2 separate regions of the Homo sapiens genome follow, and region 1 is linked to region 2. Evidence: promoter capture Hi-C in 16 types of primary human blood cells and fetal thymus (Javierre and others, 2016). All regions are on one chromosome and are shown on one strand. The core of a region is centred on a gene start or on the middle of the fragment in contact, and the rest is flanking DNA. Distances in the headings are between cores, read along the strand shown. Region 1 overlaps C1QTNF7-AS1 (C1QTNF7 antisense RNA 1). Region 2 holds the start of FAM200B (family with sequence similarity 200 member B).

Evidence for each region. Contacts are between HindIII fragments. The CHiCAGO score rates a contact against its expected background, and 5 or more counts as called.
Region 1: a contact is called between a fragment that was not itself captured here and the fragment with the promoter of FAM200B in region 2, in 1 of 17 cell types (naive B cells). The highest score is 5.7, in naive B cells.

What each region holds. Positions count from the first base shown.
Region 1 is chr4:15,409,297-15,411,996 of GRCh38, reverse strand. The region is part of intron 1 of C1QTNF7-AS1 (C1QTNF7 antisense RNA 1); the gene reads left to right. It also overlaps a transcript of C1QTNF7 not described here. Among named protein-coding and RNA genes, the nearest start is that of C1QTNF7-AS1, 17 kb to the left of the region's middle. The HindIII fragment of the contact is 2,631 bases long and covers 36-2,666 here.
Region 2 is chr4:15,680,400-15,683,145 of GRCh38, reverse strand. It overlaps FAM200B (family with sequence similarity 200 member B), which reads right to left and starts at 1,319. Exons shown (of 2, transcript NM_001145191.2): 1 at 1,245-1,319. It also overlaps a transcript of FBXL5 not described here. RefSeq lists enhancers at 1,050-1,099, 1,110-1,349, 1,520-1,819. The HindIII fragment of the contact is 4,207 bases long and covers 205-2,746 here.

The sequences.
Region 1 (2,700 bases), core at 102-2,601, 270 kb after region 2:
AGTGATGGGGAGCAGCTGTAAATACAGATGAAGCTTCACTGACTCGCCTGCCACTCACCTCCTGCTGTGCTACCCCATTCCTAATGGGCCTTGCACCAGTACCGGTGCGTGGTTCAGGGACTGGGGACTCCTGCTCTAGAAGATAGAAAAGGCAAGGAAACAGCTTTTCCCCCAGAGCATCCAAGAGGAATGTAGCCCTGGAAGCCCACCTGAGACTTCTGACTTTCAGAACCATAAGATGGTAACTGCTCCACCAGGTTTGTGATAATTTGTTATAGCCGTTATAGAAAATTACTATACCAGGGGAAGCCAGGAGACCCTGCCAGGGCTGTAGGCAACAAAAAGAATAGGGGTGTCCGGGTTGGTTTAGACAGTGATTTCTGAAGCCAGCATACCTGGGTTTGAAGCCCAGCTCCACCTCCTACTAACCACTTTCACATTGGGTGGGCAGAGCACATTGAGACCATGGGCTGTCAGACTCCATAGCTCACTGTCTCCTCTAGGAATGCAGGCTGACTAGGCTGCCAGAGACCCTCCTGGTGATTCTGCACAATGGTGTGTTTTAAAGAGATCCAACAGCATCTCTCTAGGTTCATAGTTTCTGATCATGGCTGTGCATGTGCACAGTGGTTTTTTTTTAATATTTCATAATGAAAAGCATGAATAGTGAAAATAAGTCTTCCTTGCACATTCATCTTTCATCTCGTTTGTCTTTCCTGTGAAAATCATTGTCATCTTCAGAAAATGATGTTCTCTTTATGCCTCAGTGTGCCTTCCAGAAAATGGGAAAAAGTTAGTATATGTTTAGGATATTTAAGAACACTGGCACATTGTAAGTGCTCAATAAATGTAAATGGTTATTAATATAATAAGTTCTTATTGGAATGAATTTGCTGACTCCTTGCAATAATGGAAGTTAGTATGCACGTACATTTCCACAGTGAGAGTCTCTTTCAGTAGGGGGCCAGTGGCAGTTTCTTTTCCTTCCTGTTCGCGTGTGAAACAGGAAATGCAATTTGGATGACAGGCACTGCTGCTTTTCAAAACTCTGTTTTGTTTCTGGGTTGTAACTCGAAATTGATGTTGATATTGTAGCAGCCAAATAAAGTGGTGCCCTTTGACCTTGTTGCAATTCTGTATGTCTCTGGTAGATTACAGGCTGCCTTCGTGCTGCTTTGCAAAAGATTTGTTCCCCTAATAGTTCTGAAAACCAGAGAGAAAGCATATTCACGTGAAATCCTGGTGATTTTTCTAAGTTCACCTAGTTAGTTTAATACCATAATCTAATGTAATTTCATATCTCTAAAACTGAAGGCTAGCCAATTGTGTGAATCTAGCCTAAGAAATAATTATGAATTCAATAAAAATGTTCACATACAAAGATGTTTATTGCAGCACTGTGAAAACCAGAAAAAATTGGAATAAACCAAAATGTCATGTAATAGTAGAGTTGTTAAATATATTGTGGGTTAGTCACTTAGTGGAATATTATGCAGTTAGTTGAAAAGGTAGTTATAATGCCTTTTCCATCATAAGGAAAATATTCACAATATACTGTTAAGAGAAACATTGAGAGTCAAAATTGTGTTCAATATGATTATAATGCTTGTAATGATAAAGCTCACACGTTAACAGCCTGGCAGAAAATATACCAAAATGCTGGTATCCATTGTGAAAGTGGTGGAATTATGAACTGTTTTTTTCCTACTTTCTATTTCCCATATATTTAGTAACATAATTATTTACATCTCTAAGAAAAAAAATTAAATGCAAACATAAAGCAATAAGCCAAAGCTCCAAAATAGTGTGGAAGATGTCTAAGAAAATTATGACTGCACACATTTATAATTCTAAATTAAAATGCCTCAGGAGTTCTAGTTTCCTGGATTAGTGCTAACGGCAGGAAGGCTGGGGTGAGAAATTTTGGCCATTAGCACTTCATGGGGTATGTAGAAACTGTTTTAGCACATACACTTTCTGGCTTTAAGTCAACTGACTTGGTTTTATGAGACAAAGAAGAGTTTTGCTTTCCCAGATAATTCAATTGTGATCATTTCAATAACCTTCATTCCAGCACAAGGACAATGGAGAAAAAAAGAGTCATCATATTTATGATTTACTGAAGGTTCCCTATGTGCCAAACTGTGTGTGGAATGCTTTATATGTATTGTCCTATTTCAGCCTAACAACTCTGGTAAGTGGGTCCTATTATACAGATTTCATAGATGAGATGCTCACTAAAGTGAGCACACCAAGCCCAGGGTGTCTCATTGGGTGGGCAGAGCACGTTCAGACCCTGGGCCGTCGGACTCCACAATTCACTGTCTCCTCCAGGAGCTCAGCCTGACTAGACTGCCCGAGACCCTCCTGGTGATTCTGCACAATGCTCTGTTTTTAAGAGATCCAACAGCATCTCACTAGATTCATAGGTTCTGACCATGGCTATGCATGTACACAATGGTTTTTAAAAATTTCATAATGAAAAGCATGAATAGTGAAAATAAGTCTTTCTTCCACATTCATCTTTCATCCCCAGTTTGTCTTTCCTGAGAAAACCATTGTAAATAAGGAGCACTAAATAAATACAGATAGATACAGAGGCCCATTCGCAAGCTGCAATCACTTAGAGTCTTGGAGGCCTTGAAAATCTCGATTTTTAACAAGCTTCCCAGATAATTTGGATGAAGGGCCTGAGGCTGA
Region 2 (2,746 bases), core at 70-2,569:
TACTTGCTTAATGCAATGATTGTTATTGTTACAATGCTTGATAGTCTAAAATTCCCCGTCACTAATCTTTTATATCCTAAGATATATCTCTAGTGCGCTGTATCATCTTCTGAAAATACAGCTCTAATCAGCTTCCTCATAACTGGAAAAGCATTTAATGGCGCCGAGCTTGTGTAAGCTCTTCAGGATAATATCCTTTAAGCTTAAGCCTCATCTTTCCAGGTTTCTCCTTCATCACATGATCTCCATACATTCTACATTTCAGTACTAAAAGTATGGAAATTCTTGAAATAGTTCATGCACTTTCATGTCTCTGCTTTTGGCTAGTATTCCTTTTGCCTGGAATACTCTTGTTGGGTCACATGAAGTCCTATTTATTCTTTTCTACTTAGTTCAAATGCTACAGCAGCCATGCATTCAACTAACATTTAGCTACCTACAGTGCCTAAAGTATGTCAGGCACTGGAGATACTAAACAATGAACAGTGACATATTAAAATAACAGAATATCTGTTCAGCTATTAAGATGAATAAGGTGGAGTTACACAACACTGACAAATCTCAAAAACATTATGTAAAACAAGCTAGCTGCAAAAAGATGTACACATTACAGATTGCATAAAGGTGGTTAGGAGAGTGGTTTCCTTAGGCAAAAGGAAAGAGAATGAGACGGGGTAGAGCTGACAAAGGACTTCAATCACTTATATAATCATTTATTTCTCCAATTCAGTGGTGAGTACACATGTGTTATAGTTTTGTTTCTACCTTTTTTCTGTCTAAAATCGTCTATTTAAAAAAAGCATCTTTAAGGCTGGATACCTTCCTGAAGGCACTGGAAATCTGTCATACTGCCACTAACTTAAAATTACCTTCCACCTCTTGCATTTCCCTTTGTTTCCTGTTTTGACATTGCGCACACATTAGTTAGTACACTAGGCCTTAAGAGTGGAAACTGCCAGGTACCAGCTTTAGCTAGATTAAAACATGACCCTCTTCCCAGGAGACTCCTGACCGGTTTTCTCGTCCTCCAGGGACCCAGCTAGGATTTCAATGAACTTTGGCCTGAACCCCTCGGCCGACCCTAGAATAATCGCCCTTCAGGCCCGGATTGCTTCTGCTCTCACCTTCCCTCAATTCATACGGGGGGCAAAACCAGACTGTATTTCCCGCAACGAACCCTGGAATGCTTCGCTTTAGCGGACTCCGGTCCACTCCCATCAGAGGATGCCCTTCTTTCGCCTCACCTCCAGCCCAGCCGCAGCGACCCGGCCGGGCCCAGCGCTGCAAGCCTCAGGTCTCTCCAGCAGAGCTGCGCCTCTGCTCTCCCCACACTTCCCTCCGCAACACCACTTCCGGCCTACCTCACAAATTCCCCATTCCAGCCGAAAAGAACTGGATCGGCCCTCTGCGCATGCGTGAGACCGGGGCGGTGTCCGGGGGTGCCGGGAGCGGGCGGTGCAGGCTCCACTTTTCCACTTCCCTACGCTCTGTCGGCAGTCTCGCGGGATTTCCGCCTCTCGCGGGAGTTATTTGAATGCCAGGGCGGTAACGACTCCCTAGGCGCCTGGGGCCCTCTGACAAGAAACCCTAGGAGACACCGCGGAGAACTCTGCCTCTGAGCTGGTGGGCGGGCCGGATGTAGCCGAGCGCGGACAGGGCTAGTCCGGACAGAGTCCCAGAGCCATGGGAGCGAAAAGAGACTGCTGCGGATTAAGGAGGCCTTTCGGTTGGCGCAGCAGCCACACCACAACCAGGCGAAGCAGGTAGTGGCGCTGAATCGCTCCTGCCGCGGGGTAAGCGCTCCCGGCCCGCGCCCGCCCCAGCCCCGACCTGGCGGGGCCAGGACGCTGGTTCATACACTCCAAGGTGATTTTCATAGTCTTTGTGGAAGAATTAGAGAATTTTGAACTTTGATATCATTGCACGTGTTTACTTATTTAGAGAATCGCATTGTGTTTAATAATCATAGTATTCCTGTGCGACTCTTTAGGTTAGCAGATCATTGATTTTTAACATAAAACTGCATTTCATTAAATAGATTTAAATATGTATGTATATTTCTGTCCTCTAATGATTGTAACAAAGCAGATTTCTTGATCATTAACAAGATAGGTTCGTGCAAATAAGTGCATCTTTGTCACAAACCAAATTTTTTTGTGGTTGAGATATATATTTATATATATATGTGAAACAAAAAACATATAAAGGAGAATATATATATATTCTTATATATATAATATATACTGCTTTATTTTTTTGGGTTGACATATATATGTCATATATAGTTTTTTTTTAAATTCTACCTTAAACAGGGAAACATGTTAGATACAGGAGCTTGAATTTCAACTCTGAAACTTAATGCGACTTTATCAGCATTTCTCTTTCTCAAGCTACTTACTTCTTGTAGGATTACACAGTCAAATTTTTAAAAATTTTTGATTCTCCAACTGGATTTTTTTTTTTAATTTTTGAGACGGAGTCTCACTCTCTCGCCCAGGCTGGAGTGCAGTGGCGCAGCCTCGGCTCACTGCAACCTCAGCCTCCTGGTTCAAGCGATTCCCCTGCCACAACCTCCCGAGTAGCTGGGATTACAGGCGACCGCCACCATGCCAGGCTAATTTTTGTATTTTTCAAAAATACAAAGACGGGGTTTCACCATTTTGGCCAGGCTGGTCTCGAACTCCTGACCTCAGGTGATCCACCCACTTGGGCCTCCCAAAGTGCTGGGATTACAGGGGTGAGCCAC